Regions from separate parts of the Homo sapiens genome. Here regions 2 and 3 are each linked to region 1. The links are contacts of gene promoters, found by promoter capture Hi-C in human tissues and cell types (Jung and others, 2019). All regions are on one chromosome and are shown on one strand. The core of a region is centred on a gene start or on the middle of the fragment in contact, and the rest is flanking DNA. Distances in the headings are between cores, read along the strand shown.

Region 1 (3,386 bases), core at 547-3,046:
AGTGAGTATTGGAGGGAGGGGAGTCACTCATGGGAAAACAGAAGCTGGTGCTTCTCTGCAGGGGCCCTTCCACCCCTACCCAGAGTGGGGCAGTGGGAAAGTGCACCAGACCACAGAGTGACCAGCCTCAGTCACCACCCATCAATTCCTAAGCCTAAGTCTTCACATCTGACAAATGTGTCTCCTAAAGCATCACAAAGCATTGCCAGCATTCTATCAGACACAGGGAGAGAGAGCAGAGAATAAGTTCCAAATTAAAGATGTGAGTAATGGTCCCATCAATATAAAAAACGTACGAGTGTATGTGTATGTGTCTGTATGTACACATGTGTATGCACACTGAAAAAAATCCAGAAGAATGCACATACCACGATGGAATTGGAGAAATTACAATTGGAGTAGAAACCTTTTAACTTTCTACACGTCTCTGTTGCTTCGTTTTTCAAGCTGGGATGCTATAAATGTAATAATTAAAACAATTTTTTTTTTCCTCTGAAGTCCTTGTCCTTTATTGGGCAAGGGGTGAGGGAAGCAGACAGACCGGTTGGACACAGTAGATGGGTGTGTGAGGACAAAATGCTACCAGAAAGCCAGCCAATCCACACTCCCCTGAAATGGATGCTAACGCCCTTCAAACCCTGGGCATTGGTTTCATACACAGCCTCTTCCAGGGATAAAAGGGGTTCTTGTACAGCTTCTTGTTACCCTCAACCATGGAGGCAAGTTCTGAGTTCTGGTTTTCCTAGGACACTAACTCTAGTCACAAAGATCTCTGGAGTGATCACACATGGTGGAGTGGCAGGGTGAATATTTCAAAAGGATAAGTAGAACAGGAGTCTTGCCCAAGCCCTGTCATGTCAGTGTCTGTGTGTGGCCTCCCAGCCCAACCAGAAATTGACAGAGAGGCATGTATATGGTGAAAAGATATATATATATATATTCAGAATTAGGCAGCTGCACTCAGTTTAGATAATCCCAATTTTGTTGGCAACATCCAAAGCATCGTAATCAGGAGTCAGTCGAACATATACCTTCTTCTCTCCATCAGGCCGAATCAGGGTGTTGACCTTGGCCACATCAATGTCATAGAGCTTCTTCACAGCCTGTTTGATCTGGTGCTTGTTGGCTTTAACATCCACAATGAACACAAGTGTGTTGTTGTCTTCTATCTTCTTCATGGCAGACTCAGTGGTCAGCGGAAACTTGATGATAGCATAGTGGTCAAGCTTGTTTCTCCTGGGAGCGCTCTTCCGAGGATATTTGGGCTGTCTCCGGAGTCGCAGTGTCTTCGGCCGCCGGAAGGTGGGTGACGTGTGGATCTTCTTTTTGTGGCTGTGGACACCTTTCAACACTGCCTTCTTGGCCTTTAAAGCCTTCGCTTTGGCTTCGGCTTTAGGAGGGGCAGGAGCTTCCTTCTTCACTTTCGGCACCATCTTGTGAAAAGGGTCCAAAACAAATTTTTTTAAATAAATAAGGATTTGGTACAGTGGGGACACAGTTGATCCACAACATAGGTGAGTAGTTCTGTTTCGTTTTGTTTTGTTTTGCTTTGCTTTGTTTTTTGAGACAGAGTCTCACTTTGTCACCCAGGCTGGAGGGCAATGGTGCCAATCTCGGCTCACTGAAACCTCCGCCCCACCAGGTTCAAGCGATTATCCTACCTCAGCCTCCCGAGCAGCTGAGATTACAGGCATGAGCCACCACACCCAGCTAATTTTTGTATTTTTAGTAGAGACAGGGTTTCACCATATTGGCCAGGCTGGTCTCCAACTCCTGACCTCAAGTGATCCAACCACCTCGGCCTCCCAAAGTGCTGGGATTACAGGCGTGAGCCACTGCGCCCAGCCAATAGGTGAGTTGTTCTTACTGTGTCACCATGAAGACCCAGCTCCCAGGAATCGGCCTGCAGTCTCCCTAGAACAAGCACACGGGCTGCCCACTAGCTGGAGTTTCACCTTCCCTGTCCTTGAATGCTCAGGAAGGAACACATTCTGGCTTCAGCACAACTGAGTTCAAGTCCAGGCTCTGCCACTCACTAGCTGTGTAACCCTCTGAGTCTCATAGCCTCCTCGATAAAATGCAAAGGTCAAGTTCTAACTTTTAGGTAATTAGTTTCTCAACAACAAACTTCACATGAACACTTAAATGGTAGCAGGCATGGTGCTAGGACCTGGGACACAGGTTGAACAAGACAGACGTGGTCTCTGCTGATAACCTACCAGTCACATTAGTCCCAATTAGCCCCCGGAAAAGATCTCTTGATGCATGGGTTACATCCTGTTCCTGAGTAAAGAATCTTGTGAGTTCCTCAAATCTTATCTTTAATTACTCAGATCTTATGAGTTCTTCCAACTGTTGATGTTCTGATTTTCCACTGATATGGAAAAGCACAATCCTTTGTTTCTAAACCATGAAGTTTTGCTTTATATTTATAAATCATAAAGTTTTTCTTTTCTTTTCTTTTTTTTTTTGAGACAGGGTCTTTGTCACCCAGGCTGGAGTGCAGTGGCGCAGTCTCATCTTACTGCAACCTCCATCTCCTAGGTTCAAGCAACCTTCCTGCCTCAGCCTCTCGAGTTGTTGGGATTGCAGGCATGTGCCACCATGCCCAGCTAATTTTTGTATTTTTAGTAGAGCAGAGTTTCACCATATTGGCTAGGCTGGTCTCGAACTACTGGCCTCAGGAGCGATGAGCTTCTCCTCAAGGGATCTGCCCGTCTCAACCTCCCAAAGTGCTGGGATTACAGGCATAAGCCACTGTGCCCTCTCTTATAAAGTTTCACTGATGGTTTTACATACAAAATGTTTTAGCCTGTATGTTATAACCTGTATCTAATCATTATGACCTCTGTATTATACCCTCCAATAAAAACAGACAATTCTGATATAAGAAGTTCCCTTCTCTTCTCCTAAACTTTCTTATAAAAACATTCCAAATTGTAAAAGATTCTGGCACACATCCAAATGTGTTGGTGCATCTTTCTGGGTTGATCCTCACCTTTGGCTTCAAATAAACCCTTATCAAAGTATTTCTGCCTCGGCAGCTTTAATTTCACTCCACAAAATGATGTAGTCATCAGTGTTTCAGAGTGGCCTCCCTGGTCACCCTGGACCTTCCTGAGCAGGTTTCAACCTTCATGCACGGAATCCATCGTGTTCCCCCAACTGGGATGCCCCTGCTGGATGCAACAGATAAGTTTCTCCTGAAATCAACGAACTTCCTGTTTTAGGCAAAGTTCTGCCTTATTGAAGCTGCTTTCCCCCTTGGCTAGGAGGTGCAGTGATGTTCTCAGAATAAGAGCTACTGCTACAAATTTAAGGTAAGGGTTTTTGTTGAATTCTAGGGCAGGGTAAAATAGGATCTTTGTGAATGGTTTCTCTAGGGG
Region 2 (3,410 bases), core at 462-2,961, 100 kb after region 1:
CTGAGGCGGGTGGATCACTTGAGCCCAAGAGTTCAAGACCAGCCTGGGCAACATGGTGAAACCCCATCCCTACCAAAAATACAAAAAGTAGACAGGAGTGGTGGTGCATGCCTGTAGTCCTCCATACTCAGGAGGCTGAGGTAGGAGGATTGCTTGAACCCAGGAGATCGAGGCTGCAGTGAGCTATGATTATGCCACTGCACTCCTGCCTGGGTGACAAAGTGAGACCCTGTCTCAACAACAACAACAAAAAAAGAAAGAAAGAAAGAAAGAGAGAGAGACAGAGAAAAGAAAGAAAGAAAGAAAGAAAGAAGGAAGGAAAGAAAGAAAGGAAGGAAGGAAGGAAGGAAGGAAGGAAGGAAGGAAGGAAGGAAGGAAGGAGAGATGGGTCCCATTCCCTGAATGCCTCTCAAGTCATCCAAGCCCCTCTGCAGATACCAACCTGGGTCACCGCCAGACACCAGGCCAGAGTTAATGTTACTGTTCAGAAACCCAAGCTGGGCCATTTGGTGATGCCGGGGACATCGGAAAGTGGACTGAGGCTTTGGGGTCAAACAGGGCTTGTTTTTTCAAATCCCAGCTCTCCCACTGGGCACTGGGTATCCACAGGCACAGGCTTCTTCTCTCTGGCCCTCAGTTTCCGTGCCTGTAAAATGAGGGTGGTAGGGAAGATTTGGGGAGGTTCCTTCTCTTTGGGGTTTGGAGTTACACAAGAAGGAGTTTGATGCTGCCAGCCCTGGCTGGGCACAGCTCCAGGACCTAGAAATAAGGGGTGGAGCAAGGGGCACAGGGTAGGAGGAATTTCGGGTACGCAGCCAGCCCTGGCCATCTCCTTTGCCTACAGGGCGGTGAGACTCACAATGAGTGCATGAATGAGCTGTGAGCGGGCAGATGAACCAGGAGAGATGCCCTGAGCCTAGGCCTCTCCAGCCTGCGACTCCCCAGGTGGCCAGCCTCGGCCAACTTGCATACCCAGGCTGGGCCAGGCCCCTGGGAGGCCAGAAAACATCTTCCTTCCAGCATCTATCAGACGAAGATCACCTGGGACCAACCCCAGGACCTCACACAACCCTCAGAGCCAACTCTCGGGGCCAGAAGAACACCGTCTTTTCATAGAGGGGCTCTGCGTCTGGCATGGATGGGCAGAGGGTTCCTGATAGCAGTTGAACCACAAGCCTAACCCCATCGGTTGAATGTACTACAACCTCCCCGTCAAGACAACGTGCAGTGGTGAAATCTCAGGGCGAATCCCCATTCAGCCCCAAAGAGGCGTCCCAGGGCGGGGCTTGAACCCATCTGGGATGTCCTGACTACCAGAGGGGTCTTTTGGAGGCCCCCTGCCCATCACAGATACCCAGAGAAAAGGATGCGCCTAGGACTCCGAGGCGCACACAGAAAAAAAAAAAAAGAAAACAACTCACAAATGCAGCAAACGTCGGGGACACACCCACGTGCCCCTCTCCCCACGAGTGCCCCGGGCATGCAGCCCCGTCCTGGGTCCTGGGGGGGTCCCCGTGGCCGGCTGCGCCCCGCCCGCCGCCGCGCGCAGACCTTCGCCCTTGCCCCGCCAGCACCGAACCGCGCGAGCCTCGGGTTCCAGCGCAGCGCCGCGGCCGCGCTCAGGTTACAGCCCTCACCACGCGCGCACTCACCCGCGGGTCTCAGCCTCCTGCCCTCGATCCGGATCCACCGGCGCCACTACCTGGGATCTGACCGCGCCGTCCCACGGCCCAACCCTTTAACCCCGCCCGGCCGTGCCGAGGGGTCCGCCCCCGGACATCCCGCCCCGGGCTCCCGCAGGGTTCTGGGCGGGGACTCCAGCGCTGCCCCCTAGAAAAGGAGAGAACAAGAAATAGGCGTGTGGAGGGGTGGAGAGCGATGGAAAGAGAGAGAGACTGAGACTGAGATGGAGAGATGAAGAGAGACAGAGACTTGGACACCTAGAAGTCCCAAACCATCAGGCTCCCCGCCCTCCTGCCACTGCTGGGCCGCATTAGCGCCCAAGTCCCGCTCTGGACCACACTCCTCCCACACCAACACCCCCCATGGCCCTTACTTCCAGGTTTGCTCCCAAGCTTGGACAGCGATCTCTAAACCATCACCCCCTGGGGCCCCACTGACCCCCCCGAGAAGCCTCCTCTGGGGCCCTCAGGAATTCTCTGGCTCCACCAGCCCTTGGGAACCAGCCCTTCCCCTCTCTCTGGATCCTGGGCCTAAGCTTCCCCGGCACCCACCCCTGGAGGCTCTGCAGCCTCTTCCTCCAGGAAGACCTCCAACCTCAACAAGCAGCACCAGACTGGTTCTGCTCCCCGCCAACCCGCCCTCCGCCACTCCTCCCCACCCACTGCCAGACACCTTGACCCTCTGACCAGGATGTTGTCCTTGGCCAACCCGTCTACTCCAGATGTGTGGAGACAGAGTCAGCTCCGCCTCTGGATGTGTCTGTCCTCCGGAGTCGGTGGGTGGATGTGTGGCTGACCTTAGCACGTGGGCAGACAGATGAGAAGACAAGAATCTCCACTTGCCCCAGCAGGTGGTAAACTTAGAAGACTTCCTTATCCCTCTTTTTTCTAAGAATACGCTCTCATTTGGTGCTGGGCCCTTGGAAAGAGGGCGTGGGAGGTGTGGGGCATGTCTCCTGGTGAAGAAGAGGAGACACAAGTAATTGAAGTTTTGCTGCTTGGAGGAGGCAGACATGAGGTCAGGGAAGGCGACGTGGAGGATGTGACACTTGAGCTGGGACTGCATGGAGAGGTTGGATTTCAACAAGTGCAGGAGAGGGGGTAGAGCTCAAGCACAGAGAAACTGGAGGGTGTGACTTAGCAGATGGCTTTCCCTGGCCTTGGAGTGTGAGAGGTGTGGAGGCTGGAGGGATGCAGGAGTTGACTGTGAAGGCCAGTTTGAATGGCTGGATCTTGATCTGGTGGGCAGTGGGGAGCCATGGATGGTGCTTGAGTAGGGGAGGTGCCCCCTGTTAGTTGATTGGTCTCACTCTGTCATCCAGGCTGGGGTGACTCCTGGGCTCAAGCCATCCTCCTGCCTCAGCCTCCTGGGTAGTTGGGACTACAGACACGTGCCACCACACCCAGCTAATTTTTTTTTTTCATTTTTTTAGAGACAGGGTCTCACTATGTTGCCCAGGCTGGTCTCAAACTCCTGGGCTCAAGCCATTCTCCCAGCTCCTAGAACTTTTAAAAAAAAATATTTATATTTATTTGTGTCTTTAATCTTTTTTACTTCTGAGGAAGAGCTTATTTTATTAATTTTTTATTCATAATTAACGCAGCATGAAAGCCTATTTTTTAGGGATATGAATTTTGTTTTGCCAGTAATTCTGGCCAAGGGGGAGCTTACTAGAAGCACTTTGGAAAATGCAGAGATCCACATAGAGTGAAGTTTGAGAGGGACCC
Region 3 (2,988 bases), core at 420-2,919, 120 kb before region 1:
AATTTTTGTGTGTGTCAGGAAGGGGAACATCACAGACTGGGGCCTGTTGTGGGGTAGGGGGAGTGGGGAGGGATAGCATTAGGAGATATACCTAATGTTAAATGACAAGTTAATGGGTGCAGCACACCAACATGGCACATGTATATGTATGTAACTAACCTGTACGTAGTGCATATGTACCCTAAAACTTAAAGTGTAATAAATTAAAAAAAAAAGAACTTGTGTGTGTGTATGTGTTTGTGTGTGTGTGTAGATGGCATCTCACTATGTTGTCCAGACCGATCGTGAATTCCTGACATCAAACAATTCTCCCACTCAGCCTTCCAAAGCACTAGGATTTGGGTTTCTTTTTTGGATGACTAAAATACTCTAAGCCAGATTGTCATGATGGTTGCATAACTCTGAATACGCAAAAACCACAGAAATGTGCGCTCTAATGGGTACATTGTATGGTAGGTGAATTACATCTTAATAAAGCTACTATAACTCAAAAATTAAAACTCAGATAAAGACATACAGATCAAGAGTTGTGGAAGTAAACATGCTTTTAACATTTACTGAGCACCTACTATGTGATGAGTGTTGTCATATACAGAAATCTTTACACCTGCCTTACAAGGTAAGCATTACTAGCCACACTGTGCAGACAAGGTGATGGTCATCCTCCTATCATATTCTATCAGCACTTCCACACCAGCTACTCAGGTGCCTGAGGAATAGAGTGTGCTGAGGAAGGTCCTCTTCATGGCAACCTTCAGTTCTTTGTTCCTGAGGCTGAAGATGATGGGGCTGAGGAAGGGCGTGAGGACTGCGTAGGTGGTGGCCATCAGGGTGTCACCCTCCTGAGAGTGGGGACCTTTGGGCTTGAGGTAGATGACAGAGGCAAAGCCATAGTGCACAATGACCACAATAAGGTGAGAGGCACAGGTGGAGAAGGCCTTGTTCCGACCTTCAGCAGAAGGGATCTTCAAGATGTCGGCCACGATGAAGGCATAGGAGAGGAGGATGAGGAGAAAACAGCCCAGCAGTGCCATGATACATACCAAGCCCACGCCCAGGGCCACAGCTGGTACATTATTTCCACAGGCCAACTTCAACAGAGGTGGCACATGACATAAAAAATGCTGGATCTCATGGGATCCACAGAAAGTCAGTTGGAAAATGGCCGAGGTCACCACCATCCCCATGACCGAGCCACCAGCCCAGGAGCAGCCCACCAGGCAGGCGCAGCCCCGTGGGCTCATGAGCACGTTGTAGCGCAGGGGGTGGCAGATGGCCACGTAGCGGTCGTAGCCCATGACGGTGAGCAGGAAGGAGTGGGTGAAGCCGAAGCTGAAGGAGAAGAACATCTGACTGGCACAGGCCAGGAAGGCGATGGAGCGCTGGGTGGACAGCAGGTCGGCCAGCATGCGCGGGATGATGGCCACGGTGTAGAGGATCTCGGAGACTGAGAGGACGCACAGGAAGAGGTACATGGGCGTGTGGAGGCTGCGCTCGCTCCAGACGGTGGCCATGATGAGCAGGTTGCCCAGCAGCGTGAACAGGTACATCAGCAGGAACAGCAGGAAGAGCATCAGTTGGAGGTGGGGGAAGGCAGAGAAGCCGACGAGGATGAATTCAGACATGGAGGTGTGGTTTAGCCCCAGCATGACGGCCACCCCTAGTTGGGGAAGAGAGGAAAGAAGACCCAGTGGTTAGGAGCATGGGGGTGTCTAGTGATTCCTGCCTGGGAGGACATCTGAGAGCGCCTCCTTCATCTGTCCAAGCCATGGTTACTCCATCTGCAGAAAGGCATTAATAATAATGTATTGAGGTTTAAATAAGATCACTCACCTTAAGTGCTTTGTGCAGGTCCTGACACAAAGTAAGAATTTAATAAATTATAAATGTTGATAGTAATAATTATTCTGCTATTGTTATTGCCATCACGATTATTAGATCCATGCACCACCACCTACACCTTGCTTTTCTGCCTTTGTTCATGCTGGTCTTTTCATGCTTTTCCCTATCTTTATGGGTCCAAATCCTACCTGAATTTTATGAGCAAGCTGCTCCCTGATTGCCACCTTCAGCTGGAAGTCATCTCTTCCCTATGTCATGGAAACGTCCAGACTCTGTTTAATTCTCGGCACCACTGCTTTCTAGCTGTGAGATGCAGGGCAGGTTGCTTCCCCTCTCTGAGCCTCATTGCTCCCCTGGAAAATTGAAACCACCTTTGCAAAATTATGACTGAGACAGCGAAAGAGATCTAACTTAACCAACTCCATCTTGCTTCTAACCTCCAAGCTGTCCTTGTTCATTCCAGGACATAGGGTGAACTAACTTTGGGGGAAATTTAGTTTATAGTTTATAGTTTATAGTTTGGAACAAGGACGATAACAGCCCTTTCCCAAAGCAGACCTCCTTCTTGTCTGGGGATTAGATTGCCTTTGTAGAACTAACATTAGCCACAAGATTAGAAATTATGGTTTAGGAGTCATGCAGCTGGAGGCTACAAGATTCTGACCCTCCCTAAATTGCTCCCAAGATCAGTGCTTGAGATATTTTGCAGATCCTGCACTTGATGGATCAGCTGGCACCACCCAGGTCGATAAACTGGCTCAACTGATCTTGTGGCCCCCACCCAGGAACTGACTCTCCGCAAGAAGACAGCTTTGATTTCATCTCTGACCAATCAGCACTGCTGGCTCACTGGCTTCCCCTCCACCCACCAAGTTGTCCTTAAAAACTCTGCTCCCCAAGTGCTCAGGGAGACTGATTTGAGTAATAATAAAACTCCAGTCCCCTGCAGAGCCAGCTCTGTGTGAATTACTCTTTCTCTATCACAATTCCGCTTTTTTTTTTTTTTTTCTTTGAGACAGAGTCTCACTCTGTCCCTGCTGGAATGCAGTGGCATGATCTCGGCTCACTGCAACCTCCGCCTCCTGGGTTCAAGCAATTCTCCTGCCTCCGCCTCCTGAGTAGCTGGGATTACAGGCCCGCATCACC

The links. The method cuts DNA at HindIII sites, captures the fragments that hold promoters and counts their contacts. A contact is called where the count stands out against the background at its distance.
Region 2: a contact is called between the fragment with the promoter of CYP4F22 here and a fragment that was not itself captured in region 1, in 4 of the 25 tissues and cell types used here (H1 embryonic stem cells, dorsolateral prefrontal cortex, mesendoderm cells and 1 more).
Region 3: a contact is called between the fragment with the promoter of OR10H2 here and a fragment that was not itself captured in region 1, in 4 of the 25 tissues and cell types used here (adrenal gland, mesendoderm cells, small bowel and 1 more).

Annotation. Positions count from the first base shown.
Region 1 is chr19:15,609,703-15,613,088 of GRCh38, reverse strand. It overlaps the pseudogene RPL23AP2. Among named protein-coding and RNA genes, the nearest start is that of CYP4F8, 3.8 kb to the left of the region's middle. The HindIII fragment of the contact is 7,491 bases long and covers 1-3,386 here.
Region 2 is chr19:15,506,826-15,510,235 of GRCh38, reverse strand. CYP4F22 (cytochrome P450 family 4 subfamily F member 22) reads right to left here and starts at 1,711. Exons shown (of 14, transcript NM_173483.4): 1 at 1,653-1,711. RefSeq lists an enhancer at 1,567-2,067. The HindIII fragment of the contact is 20,579 bases long and covers 1-3,410 here.
Region 3 is chr19:15,726,705-15,729,692 of GRCh38, reverse strand. It overlaps OR10H2 (olfactory receptor family 10 subfamily H member 2), which reads right to left and starts at 1,669. Exons shown (of 1, transcript NM_013939.2): 1 at 641-1,669. The coding sequence starts at 1,649. The coding sequence ends at 702. The HindIII fragment of the contact is 21,841 bases long and covers 1-2,988 here.